Linked DNA regions of Homo sapiens: region 1 is linked to region 2. Evidence: promoter capture Hi-C in 16 types of primary human blood cells and fetal thymus (Javierre and others, 2016). All regions are on one chromosome and are shown on one strand. Each heading gives the region's core, a stretch centred on a gene start or on the middle of the fragment in contact. The rest is flanking DNA. Distances are from core to core; before and after follow the strand shown. Region 1 overlaps EFCAB6 (EF-hand calcium binding domain 6). Region 2 holds the start of EFCAB6-AS1 (EFCAB6 antisense RNA 1).

Region 1 (6,957 bases), core at 436-2,935, 230 kb before region 2:
CTGGGTGAACAATATTGCAAGGTTTTCTCAGTGTTATTGGGATTCTGTGTGAGAATAAATATAAAATGAACTCACCGTAGTGCTGGGCACATAGAAGTTACTCAACAAAATTAGGAGTTTGTATTTAGAGGACACAAAGCATGCGAGTTCTTACGTGGGAAGTTAAAGGATGGCATGCGATCATCTAGGGCAGCAGTCCCCATCCCCCAGGCTGCAGACCTGTACTGGTTGGTGGCCTGTCGGGAACCAGAATGCACAGCAGGAGGTGAGCGGTGGGCAAATGAGCATCACCGCCTGAGCTCCGCCTCCTGTCAGATCAGCAGCGGCATTAGCTTCTCATAGGAGCACGAACCCTATTGTGAACTGCGCATGCGAGGATCTACGTTGCACGCTCCTTATGAGAACCATCTAACTAGTGTCTGATGGTCTGAGGTGGAACAGTTTCATCCCGAAACCATACCCCCTCCCCACTGGCCCATGGAAAAATTGTCTTCCACAAAACTGGTCCCCGGTACCCAGAAGGTTAGGGACTGCTGCTCTAGGATTGAAAGCTACTAGGGGAAGAATAAGAGGGCTATATGCTGAGGGTGCCCACGTTTATATCTCCTTCTGAGGCCCCAGACTCACCAGTGTCCACAGACAAAAACGTAACTCGTGACTGTCCTCCTGCCCCACCCCAAGAATCCTTCCTCCCAGGTCAGTAAATGGTTCTACCACTCATCATTCATTCAAGCAGAAACCAAGGACCAGTCTTGATTACCTCTCCCTTACCAGTGCCCCTCCCATATGCAGGCCGTCAGCAAGTTATGTCTACTGTATCCTGAACTAGATCCCAAACCCGGACACTTCTGATCCATCCCTACTGCCATCATTATACCTAAGCCACCATTGTTGCTGGCCTGTGCTTTGTCAGTGACTCCTTAGCTGGGTTTCCCGTTGCCTCTCTTGCCCCTTATAATCTGCATTCCACACAACAGCCAGAGTTATCCGTTCAAAACATAAGCCAGAGCCCGTCAGACTTCTCTGGTGAACATACCCATGTCTTTTGCTTGTGCATCGAGTACACTTCAGTTAAATGTCCCAGCTTTCAGAGCTCTGCCCGAGAGAGCTCTCTAGTGAGATGTCTTTTGACTACCCTAAAACTGTACATTTTCCGTAACACGTAGAACATTCTGAAATGTTGTTTGTTTGCTTGTTTGTGACTGGGATCTGTGTTCTGTGGGAGCAGGCACCTTTTCTGTCCTGTCCACTGTGGTAACTTCAGTGCCTTGAACAGTTCCTAGAGCCGGATATACACTCAGTAAATAATTATTGTATGAATAAAGAAAGTTTTGTAGAAAAGTTCATATTCCTTGGAATAGCCAGGAACAATTGGATGAGGAAGGTGATATTGGAGCTTGAGTTTGGACCATAGATAGACTTGCAATGCACGTTGAGGATGGGATAGGGGAAGAGATGTGGGGTAGTTTTCAGAATTGCAACCTGGCCTAAGAAAAGGACATGAGGAGAGGGAAGCCGGGCTGTGGCCAGAGCACCGCAAGGAGACAAGCCCTGCGGCTATTCTGTAGAGTTATGTTTCTCAAGGCAAGTTGGGACAGATCAGTTTTGAAAGGTAGACTGGCGGAAAAGATGCATTTGAAGGCCAGGTTTTAACCCTTCGGCATGGGTCAGGAGGAGGATGACTGAAGGTTTCTGATAAGGGGGTTATGATGTATTTAGGAGAGTGCTGTCAGCAGCATCATGGGTGCATTTGCTGGGAAAGCAACTGGAGTCAGGCGTACCTGTTACCAGGCTTGGAAGTCATCGGTCACCCTCTTACCATCATCGTCTGCATTTGTTGAGCACCTACTGGTGTTGTGGGGACACCATGTGGTTATTGGGGATACAAAGAAGACTAAGGCCTGATTCTTGTCCTCCAGAAACTTAAAATCACCTTGGGGACACAAGCGTAAGCAACACATTATGATGGTTTAAAAATGTGTTTATTGGGCGGTATATCACCTAGATCAGGAGGAGTTAGGGAATAAAGTGATACAAGTTGCTCATACTGACAGCTGAGAGATGTGGACAGTAAACTCTCTAAGACTTTGTAAGAGAAAGTCACCCCTATTGGCTACTGGGGAGGTACCCAGGGAGGGTGATTGGTTTGAACCAGGCCTTAGAGGAAGGGTAAGACTTCAGATGGTGTGTACATAGCAGGGGCTCATTAAGTCTAGGAATTCATGAATGAACAGAAGGCAGGCAGGAGGGCACAGGGTGGGTGTTCTCCCACCAACTGGATCAATTTGCCAGGAAGAAAGATGTCTACGGGGGTGAACGGGGAGGACGTAGGCACTCCCAGCTGAGTGTGCACTGAGTGAGCTAACAGTCTTCCTCCCCAAACCTGCAACATATTCTACATTGTTGATCTTATCCAGTCAGGTCACCAAGGCAGAAACTGGGCGCCACTTCGACTTTCCTTTCCCTCACCCTCTACATACAGTTAACCACTAGGTCCTGCAGATTTGGTCCCCCAGAGCCGGCCCCAGCTTCTCCAGTGCTGTTCCCCTAGTCCTTGAGGATTCACAATGTACGTTAGCATAGTGAAGGCTCAGAGGAGGCTGCTGTATAGAAATCTATTGAATGTTGCTGCAGCCAGCCTTTCCGTGCATGTGTTTGTTTAGCTCTAGATCCAGAAGAACTTGTGTTTGGAGGAACGCCATTTTGGGAAATGCTGGGGGAGACGACAGACAAAGTCTTTTTCTACTCTAAAATGTGATTCTGGTCTATTTCTTAGGTGAGGTGGTCTGTGGCTGGCTAGGCTCTTGGCAAAGTGCTACAGCCACTTGGCAGTACCCAGCATTGGCCCAGCCTGGGAAACTTTTCACGTAACCTGAACAGTCTTCTGCGGTTTGTCTTTCTCAAAGCAGCATCCTCTTGCATGAGGTCCAGATAAGCAGCAGGATGCTGGGTCAGCATAGTGGCTTCTGATCTTCCAGGCTTGCCCCTGCTGGTGTGCAGCTCTGTCCTGTGAGTGAGCTGAGGCCAGGGCTCTTAGGGGCCCCAAGATTCTTGGCCCGTGGCAGCTGAGGTGGAGTACCCATCCTATGAGTGTGGGCTGGGTAAGAAAGAAAGGAAAGAAAGGAAAGATTTCTTATAGATCAGCAGCCCTTTTTAAAATTTTAATTTCTAATTTTTTGTAGAGATGGGGTCTTACTATATTGCCCAGGCTAGTCTTGAACTCCTAGCCTCAAGCAGTCCTCTTGCCTCAGCCTCCCACAGTGCTGGGGTTACAGGCATGAGCCACCGCACCCAGCCTGGCACCCTTGTAAGTCCCTCAGCTTATAGACGGGGCACCTTTTCATAGCTGTATCGTAAGCTCAATGGGTAGCTAGAGTTTCTTAAAAGAAGTCTATAAGCTATACGTTACAGGTAAGCATTTTAAAAATGAAAAATTGAATGTGGGGGAAGGTTTACATGGCCTGTGGACTTTATATAAGCACGAGTTTCCCTCTTCATCTTGGCTGCAAGGAGACCCCGAACCAGAGTTTTGCTTCATTGTGTCAACTATGACTTTTAGGTTTCTTTAGCTCATTTTTTCGGGGTCAGCTTTCTTTTCTCCATTTTTGTGGATCTTATTTGGATATCTTTTTCAGTAAGCTTTTTCGATTTTTGGTAAAGGCAGGGTATGCCTATGGTCAGTAAAGAAATTTGTAGTCCTTGGCCTGCGAGGGCAACTGCCAGAGCAATGAGAGCATCAGCCCAGAGGCAGGGAGGCGAGGCTTTTGTGAAAGGTGAGCGATGCCCGGCCCCCGCTTCCCGCTTGTCCCCGGATTGGAAGTTTGTGTTTATGAGGTTCTGAATGTAGTCTAATTTTTTCCTATCTGGTTTGGCGCATCTCTACCAGCTGGTAAATAGGAAATGTTCACGGTAGGAAGCCAATACTCTGCAGAGTGTAAACAGATGGAATCGATATAAAGTGACAAGTTAGACTGTGCTATTGAGAATACAGAGCCAAAACTAAGAACATAACAGTCAAGCTACTTATTTCGTTCCAGTTCATTTAGTCCTGAATAGTGCTTCATATCTGCACAGCTGTGTTGTTCTTTTTTCCCCCTTCCTTTCTTCTGGGTTGATAATGACAATTTCAAAGAAAAACTTTAATTAAAGATTTTATACAAAATAGCCAAAAGTAGAATAATAAGGAAAATGAGCATTGATGTGTTTATTGTAAGAGAAATCCTTTTTCATGGTTTCATTTCAAATCTGTACTTCTTAAATTTAAAATGAATTTAGTGGTGGAGACAGAAAGGTGCCAGACTGACAGCCGTGGGTGTTGAACTCTTCCGCTTGCTGCTGAGCCAAGACATGGGGGTGCCCGAAGCCCCCTCCCCTTGGGACTCAGTCTCAGTCTACAGGCAGGCGGGTGGGATGCGGTTCCTGACCCCCTTCTCTTAGAAGCCAGGTGAGAAAAAGTGGCTCCGGGTGAGGAGCTGCACAGAAAACAGCTACACGGAAGCCAATAAGAATGAAATTGTAGAAGGTTTAAGTTCGTCTGCGGGTTATGCTGTGGCATGAAGAAGCTTGGCCTGCCTCCGGGAAGGGCCACGTTAGTGCCAGGCCTCCAGAGGGATTGTTTTCCAGGCGGAGTGGGAATTCTGGGCTTCAGAGGGGAAACATTCAGCCTTTTCTCATCTTCTTTAAAGCCTGGGTGGTCAGATTTATTTGAGTTCACAGTTTTCCTTCCTGGAGCTCAAAGTGCTATAAAAAGAATTTTAAACAAAGAACTCTGGAGTAATAATAGCATCCATGGTTAGCAGTTTATGGAACCATCTGAACTCAGTGGGGTACAAATATGAAGCAGTTTGATTTCTTAGCTCTCAGTTTTCTCCAACAGGAGCTGCTGAATCTCCCTCTCTTGTCCCATAGGAATATCTTCAGCAGATCTGGTGGCTCTCTGGTCACATTTAGGTCTAAACAGGTCCAGTGCAGGCGAGTTCAGTTTAAACCTCAAGTGTGGGGCTGGTTCAGCACGCCCTTCTCAGCTCCTCCAAGCCCGAGGGCCCTGGAGTGGGTAGGGCCTGCTCACTGGCTGTACCTCCCTCCTTCTTTCTGCTTCCTCTCTCCCCCAGATCATGGGGTCTGTGATGAGGGCTGGGGAAGGAGAGCATGTCTCTCTCTCCCTTATCTGGGTCCTCTCTGGGAAGCTCTCCTATAGGGTCCGTGGGGAGTAATTAGGACAGTGCTTTGGGGGCCTCTGAACTTCATGGTTTCCTGTTGAGGAAGATCAGCCCTGACTTAGCCCCCTCTGGACCCCCTCAGCTCCCACTCCTGGTGGTCCAGCTCACTTCCTTTGGCTGCTTGGGTCCCCTTCCCTGATGAGCAGTCCCTTGGGAACAGGACAGCTCAAGATTTCTACCTGTCATGGTGTCCTCTTAACCCATGGAAAATTCACAAGTCCCGTCCATACCAAAATAGGTGTTCAGGCTGCTTTCATCTGCTGCTTCTGCCTTGCTCTGCTGTGTCTGTCTGAGTCTCAGTTCCTCTTCCCAGGTAGGTGCAGAGCAGATCACTGAATCCACTGGGAAATGAGATGCTTGTCTACCCTTTTTGCAGGTTCCTGTCCTGTCTCTACAAGGATTGTCTTGGCTTGCAATCTCCCCACCTACCCACCCACTCATCCATCCACCCATCCATCCTTCATCATCCATCCCCACATCCATCTGTCCATAGCCCTTCCATCCATTCATTCATCATCCATCCATTCATCCATCTACCCATCTATCCATCATCCATCCATCCATCTACCCATCCATCCATCCATAACCCATCCATTCATTCATTCATTCATTCATTCATCATTCATCCATTCATCCGTTCATCCATCCATGCATCCATAACCCATTCATTCATTCATTCATTCATCATTCATCCCTTCATCCATTCATTCATCCATTTACCTATCTATCCATCATCCACCCACCCATCCGTTCACCCATCTGTCCCATTCATTCATCATCCATCCATTCATCCACCCACCCACCCATCCATCCATCCACTCACCCACCCATCCATCCATCCACTTAACAGTTATTCATTGATCCAGGCCCTAGTCTTGGCTCTGGACTCATGCCTATTCAAGACCTTCCTCCATCTCTAGGCTTCTGTTTTCTTAGTCTGGGCAATGGTGCTGTGGAGGGTGAGGGGTGAAGGAGGGACTGGGGTTGGGGAGAGTAATGCCGTTTCAGCCGCTTAATATTCCCTGACATGGGTGTGTGGTTATTTGGATCTCTATTCTTAGCCTTTGATCCCAGTCAGCAATTCTCATTTCACCACCATTTATTGAACGTGTTCCGTGTGTGAAGCACCTGCACACATGAGCTCCTTTCATCTTAAGCACACACCACACACCTATATCCTTATTCATTCTCATTTCACAGGCAAGGAAGCTGAAGTTAGAGGAATCAGGCTGCTTTCCCCAGGTTACCTGAATAACAGGTGCGGAGCTGGGATTTGAAGCCTCATTTCAGCACCTGTGACTAGTCACTACATCATTCTGCCCTTCAGGTCCCTTGTGGAGAGGAAGGAGGCAAAGAGGCGATTTGATACACTGGGATTGTCCAGTGGGGGTCGCTCCAGCCCAGAGCAGTTATGTGCCTTTCAGTGGGCAAACCACCCTGCCTGGGAGAGGGTTCATTTTCCCCACTCTCCGGCTTTCATCTTAAAGGTCAGACAGTCTCTGCTTCTTCTAGTAACATTTATAATTCTGCCCTTCATCAGTTCACCTAAATCTTTTTAATTGAATATTTTGTCTTGCTATTACTTTTTACAAAAATTTGTTATTTTTATTTTTAGTGATCACTTCCTTCTTTTACTTCACTCCTATGTGACATGGAGCTTCATTTCCTTGCTTTAAATGTTAGGTAACGGGCTTGGCTTATGCAGCCGCACTTTGGAACTTCAGAGTTTTCTGTCTTG
Region 2 (6,753 bases), core at 1,423-3,922:
CTTTGATGTTCCTCCCTCCAGGGGGAGAGGCTTAACTCCTCTCTCCTTGAGTGGAGCTGGACCTAGTGGCTCGCTTCTAACAAATTGAATGTGGATAAAGAAGAACAGTATCTTTACAGTGGAGAAACCCGCAGACGTCACTTTAACCAAGGGATCAAGATGCACATCGCCAGGAATGCATCCTGCTCCTCTCGCATTACCCTAGATGGATGACTTGAGATGGCACCTTCCCCTCTGTGGGATTTTTCTAAAAAATACATAACCCCGGACTAATCATGAGAAAACAGCAGACAAACACAAACTGAAGGACAGTCCGCAAAATACTCACCCAGCACGCCTCAAAACTTCCAAGGCCAGAGGAAGCAAGGAAATACGGAGAAACCATCTTAGACTGGAAGACAGTTGGGAGCCATGATGACTAAAGGCAGCTTGGGATCATGGATTGGATTCTGGAACAGAAAAAGGACACTAGTCAAAAACTGTTGACATCCAAATAAAGACTATATTTAACAGTGTTGTACTGGTGTTGATTTCTTAGTTTGGATAAATGTATCATGAATATACAGGGGAAACTGGCTGAAGGGTATGGAGGAACTCCCTGTATTAGCCTTACAACTCTTCCTCAAAAGGAAAAGTATTTCAAAATAAAAAACGGTTTTTTTTGTTTGTTTGTTTGTTTGAGACAGGGTCTCCCTCTGTTACCCAGGCTGGAGTGAACTGGCATGATCCCAGCTCACTGCAGCCTCAACCTTCCAGGCTCAAGCAATACTCCCACCTCAGCCTCTCAAGTTCCTAGGGCTACAGGCACATGACACCATGGCCAGCTAATTTTGTTTATTTTTTTGTAGAGGCAGCATTTCGCTCTGTTGCCCAGGCTGGTATCAAACCCCTGAGCTCAAGAGACCCTCCTGACTCAGCCTCCCAAAGTGTTGGGATTACGGGCATGACTCACCATGCCAGGCAAAATACAAAGATTGTTTTTAAAGAAAAAAAAAAAGGGCGCGGTGGTTCACGCCTGTAATCCCAGCACTTTGGGAGGCCACGGTGGGTGGATCACTTGAGGTCAGGAGTTCCAGACCAGCCTGGCCAACATGGCAAAACCCTGTCTCTACTAAAAATACAAAAATTAGCTGGGCATTGTGGTGCTTGCCTGTAATAGTAGCTACTCGGGAGGCTGAGGCAAGAGAATCGCTTGACCCCAGGGGGCGGGGGTTGCAGTGAGCCAAGATCTCACCACCGCACTCCAGCTTGAGAGATAAGTGAGACTCTGTCTCAAAAAAACAAAACAAACAAACAAACAAAAACCAAAAAAAACAAGTGCCTGACTCGACTTACCGTTGGGTTTGCCCCTTTGTCATTCATGAAAGCACACCCAGGCAGGTCCGCGAAGGGCGAGAGAGAAGTGGGACATAGTCCAGTCACCCAGTCACCCTGACTGATTCATCCTGTGTCAGGCAACAGCCAGCCAGGCTCAGCAGAGCACCTCACTGACCCCGCGGACCCCAGATGTGGGAGCCCTAAACACATTGTGTGCCACGGAGACGGGGCTGTCACACAGTTACTGTGGCACTGGATAACAGGCCTCCCTTAAGGGCAGGGAACTTGGGCCATTTGCCTGTCTGTCCCCAGGACCCAGCCTAGGGAGCATCCCTGCCCCTGTGGACCTCACTCACCCTCCCTCACTCTGTCTGACTCTACCATGCTGGGCTCTGTTATATTCCTTGGAGAGGCTCAGCCTGCTCCTGCCCCAGGGCCTTGGCACCTGCCAGCCCCTCTGCCTGGCACGTTCTCTCTATCCTCAGCTCTGAACATGGCTGGCGCCCTCTTATCATCTTGGAGTCCTCCTCGGGAAGCCTGATGTGACCTGGTCCCCTTCCGTGGTCACCCCATACCCTGTGACTGTTTTGTTGGCCTCGGAACCCTCACTTGGCAGCTCTGAGATGGCTTGGCCCTGGCTTTATTGTCTTTCTCCCCAGGAAGTATAAACTCCAGCAGTAGCCCCCTGCCTGGAATAGAGCCTGAAAGCAGGGCACACCATCCATGTGGAGTGATTGTCAAATGACGAAAGCTTGGGCTCCAACTCAGGATTAACCATCCACCTTTGTGACCTTGGCAAAGCCACTGATCCACACTGTCCACCCCCGCAGAGTGGAGTGGTGATTGCCTCTTTCCAGAGGCTGCATGGAGGACCATATGTCCAGGCCATATGTGAAGAGGGGGTTCTCAACGGAGGCACGATAACCACGAACCCCCACCGTGGCTGGAAGCAGCCTGGCCACAGTGAGTGGGCAGGTCCCACCAGCTTCTCTCACCTTCCAGGAGGAGCCGCAGGGCCAGGAAGGAAGGTCCCTGTCCTTGCTTGCAGGCCTCTCCCAGGAGGCCAGAAGCACCCCCTGACACCCCGCTCCCTGAGGGTCCCATCCCCATCTGAACCGTTTCTGACCAGGCAGGAGAAGGGCAGAAGCTGACGGCAAGCACGAATGAAGGGCGTTTGAAAGGCTGGGAAATACGTCTTATCTCCGCCCACCCCGCTTTTCAAATATGCTTACCTTTCCAAGTGACTGTGTGCATAGCGAAAGCTGTCATGGTGCACCCAGACTGTTATTGCGATCGGGGGCACCCCAAGAAGACGTTTCCACGGCGGCTTTTCTATTATAGCTGGTACTTCAGATATGCAAATATATCTTCCCAAAGCAAGACTCTGGGCAGGTGTTCTCGGCTCAGACGGTGAAGACATCTCCGTGGAGGTGTGAAGGACGAGCCCAGGTGTCTATCCCAGCTCCTTCCCAGGCTGGCCGGCACCCCCCGCCCATGCCTCAGGAGGGCGCTGTGGCTGCAACAGGGGCTGAAGGCCTTGCCCAACATCAGACTTGCAGACAGGGCCAGCTTCTCAGGCGTGCAACCAGGGCAGCTGCCAGGGGCCGAGCGCACAGAAGGAGCCTGCACTTGGGGTTAAGGCTTTGCTGTGGTCTCCTTATTCTTAATTATATCTTCAACAGATGTTTTGTAAGTGAAGTCTGATGAAACAATGGAGCATGGCACCTTGACTCCTGAGCTGTCCCACCCTCCACTGCACTCCTGCCCCTTCCTGCCTTCCTGGGTCAGGTTCTTTGCCATGCACTTCCTGCCACTGGTGCCCCAGTGCCACCGGGCTCCCCTCCCCACCTTTGTCCCATGACCCCTGGTGCATGTCACCCAGGCTGGGGACGAACCACATCAGCGGGGGAGGCCTGCCTTCCACTGTTGCTTTCTGCCCCTCAGGAGCCAGAGCCGGGGCCTGCACCAGGAGGACTGGGGTTAGGTATGTGCCCAGGAGTGTCCGGGAGGTAATGAGGAAGGCAGCAGCCATCCCTGCCTGACTGGCAGTGCCAGGCTGTGCTCAGCAGGTGGCTGAGTGGGGGCCTCTTGCCCACTCCCAATTCTAAGGTTGAGTGTGACGCCTCGGGGCCACCTGTGGGTTGGGGTGGCCGGCCCATGGGAAGGGAGATTCACCTCCCCACCCCTAGCTGGGGTCTGCAATTTCAGTTTTGCACCTGGCCCCACATATGACATAGCTGGTCCCATTTGAAGGGGTCTGGGAGGCACCACCCCCACGCAGCCCCTGCCTGAGCCTCATTGCCCCTCAGCTTCCCCACTCCAACTTCCCAGACCACAAATCAGAGCCTGCTTCCCTGCTTAGACCTCCCCCTTGTCCTCCACCCAGTGCCCACAGGGTCAGTGGGAGCCCCTCACTGAGACCTTCCAGAGTGGCCCCATCTACTCCCCTCTGCACACTCCAGCCTCGGCTCTGTGTGCCAGGCACAGACTGCAGTAGGAACTGGGAGGCCAGGCCCTGCCCTCACGGAGTAGCCCCAATGGGGAGTAACAATCCCCTCCCCAGTTTCCCCACTTGAATCCAGCTCTCAGACCCGGACCCATCACCGGGGGAAGAAGCAGAGCCTGCGTGAACACCGATCCTGCAATGCCCTGGTCAGCATGTGAGAAGGGCGCCCCGGGCCTCCCCGCAGGGATCTCTGTCATTCGCTTCGGTAACACATGCTGGGGAAAGGAGGTGGAATCCAGGGCTGGAGTTGATGCCGACACCCTGGAAACTGAAACACCGTCGTGCCCACTGGGAGAAAATGGGCGTAAGGTCAGGGAATCGGGGGGCCAGGGGAATGCAGCCTTCCAGGCCTGCCTTGCCGCGTGTTCACTGAGGCATGGAGTCAGGGAATCGGGGGGCGGGTCCCTTCCAGGCCCGCCCCTTGCCATGTGTTCGCTGGGTCCGCAAACCCCGGCAACGGTCACTTCTTGCTTCGCAAATACTTCGCAAATACTGGAAACTTTGTGCTGTGGGAGCTGGCCACGCTGGTTCCTGCGCCCGCAGGGTAAGAACCATTCCAGCAGGAAAGGCCGAGTGAAAGCCTGAACCAGGTGTCTCTTCCTCTTCTTTTATTTATTTATTTGTTTGTTTGTTTTGGGACAGAGCCTCACTCTGTTGCCCAGGCTGGAGTGCAATGGCACCATCTTGGCTCACCGCAACTTCCGCCTCCCAGGTTCAAGCGATTCTCCTGCCTCAGCCTCCCAAGTAGCTGGGATTACAGGCACGCGCCAACAAGCCCAGCTGATTTCTTTTGTATTTTTAGTAGAGATGGGGTTTCTCCATGTTGGCCAGGCTGGTCTCAAACTCCTGATCTCAGGTGATCCGCCCACCTCGGCCTCCCAAAGTACTGGGATTACAGATGTGAGCCACTGCGCCCAGCCTATTTTTTTTCTTTTTAGAGACAGGGTCTCACTCTATTGTCAAGGCTGGAGTGCAGTGGTGTTCTCGGTTCACTGCAGCCTTGAATCCCTGGGCTCAAACAATCCTCCCACCTCAGCCTCCTGAGTAGCTGGGCCTATAGGTGTGTGCTACCATGCCCAGCTTATTTTTTGAATTTTTGTAGAGACAAGGTCTCATTATATTTCCCAGGCTGGTCTTGAACTCCTGGCTTCAAGGGATCCTCCCACCTTGGCCTCCCAAAGTTCTTCATCTTCTTTTTTCTTTCTTTTTTTTTTTTTTTTTTTGACTCTGTCGCCCAGGCTGGAGTGCGGTGGCGTGATCTCGGCTCACTGCAACCTCCGCCTCCCAGGTTCAAGCCATTCTTCTGCCTCAGCCTCCCGAGTAGCTGGAATTACAGGCATGTGCCACCACGCCTAATTTTTGTATTTTTAGTAGAGATAGGGTTTCACCATATTGGCCAGGCTGGTCTCGAACTCCTGACCTCATGATTCACCTGCCTCAGCCTCCCAAAGAGCTGGGATTAGGGGGTAAGCCACCACACCCAGCCAGTTCGTCATCTTCTTAAAGGAACACCAGTACTATTAAGGTATAGGGTCCCACCTTATGATCTCATTTAACCTTAATTACTTCCTCGAAGGCCCTTTCTCCAAATACACACCCAGTAGGGATTAGATCTTCAACATATGGATCTGGGGATGCACAATTCAGGTCATAACACCCCATGCCTCCAGACCCCTAAAATTTGAACCAATGTGGCCAACTCCTGCATCTTTGTGGATATCTCCTACTCTCTAGGGTGCATGAGTTTTACCCAGGTATCTGGAGAGCATCCCAACCATGTCTTACTGCTCACGTCGGATTAACGTGACGCCGTCAAACCTGTGGGCCAGTGTCAGGACGGCCAGAATACCCGCCTCTTTGGACCACATTGTGACAGAGAGTGAAACACTTCGCATAGTTTCATGCCAAGGCCACACATGTCTATCACTGGTCATCCAGTGGGATGCAAACCCATTTTGTTCCTCCTTCCTGATGGGCTTTGAAAAGAACACATTCATCAGATCAGCAGCCGCACAGCCCCGTATTTAAAACTGTTCATCTGCTGAGTACACACACCATATTTGGCACAGCAGCTACAACTGGACTATTTCTTGGCTAAATTTTTGGTGGTGCACTGTCACCTGCTGTGACCATCATTTTCAGGGGGGCCAGGTGGACAGAGGAATTGGAGATGTGTTGGAGGCCAACCTTGAGAGTGGTCCTGACCTCCGCACGCCCCTTGGGAAGCTGTGCTGACTTTGGTTGACTATCTTTTGGGCAGGGACGGGTGCTCCGCCACGGTGGCCCCTGTGGAAATGGGCACTCTGCCTTATGATGCAGCATATACCTTTAGCAGTGGCCTTACCTGCTGCTGGGTCTGTGAAAGATGGAATTAGGAACGAAGGGCTGGGGGGAGGTGGCCCAGGCCACCATCACACCCTGTGACCAACGTGGGGAATTTATGCCTCTAGTCCCTTGCAGCACAGGCTCTGTAAGTCTATAGGCCCCGGATTCCAGAGGTTCATGCTTCCATCAAGGCTATCTCAACTGAAAGCTCTGGTGTCAGCTGGCCCACCTGGGCTTCCTGAGCCAGGAGACAGGCAGCGAAGAACAAAGCCCCCCCACTGGCAGGGGGATGGCCTTGACCATCACCGGGAAAGAGGACTACTGCCACATGAGGGACAGGGAGATGTGTGCCTGGCACTCGGGGGCCTGCTGGGGCATCTCCTGGTGCTCCCACAGCCAGTTCCAGCGGTAAGTGGGCAGGTGCACACACCACAGCCTATCAGGGGACAGTAACCAGGGCTTTCGGCCCCTAGGGATACGGGAGGGTCACCCTACCAGTTAAGCCCCTGGGCCAGCATGAGTGCTAGGTCAGAGGGAGGGAATCCAGACCAGGTAGAGGGGAAGGTAGGGAGTGTTGGTTACGGACTCAGGACCCATGGCAGCAG

Evidence for each region. The method cuts DNA at HindIII sites, captures the fragments that hold promoters and counts their contacts. A CHiCAGO score of 5 or more calls a contact.
Region 1: a contact is called between a fragment that was not itself captured here and the fragment with the promoter of EFCAB6-AS1 in region 2, in 1 of 17 cell types (megakaryocytes). The highest score is 5.8, in megakaryocytes.

What each region holds. Positions count from the first base shown.
Region 1 is chr22:43,742,969-43,749,925 of GRCh38, reverse strand. All of the region lies in intron 6 of EFCAB6 (EF-hand calcium binding domain 6), which reads left to right. Among named protein-coding and RNA genes, the nearest start is that of EFCAB6, 66 kb to the left of the region's middle. The HindIII fragment of the contact is 3,912 bases long and covers 1-3,641 here.
Region 2 is chr22:43,512,173-43,518,925 of GRCh38, reverse strand. EFCAB6-AS1 (EFCAB6 antisense RNA 1) reads right to left here and starts at 2,672. Exons shown (of 3, transcript NR_046563.1): 1 at 2,550-2,672; 2 at 329-449. RefSeq lists a silencer at 3,944-4,291 and an enhancer at 3,566-4,324. The HindIII fragment of the contact is 5,518 bases long and covers 2,071-6,753 here.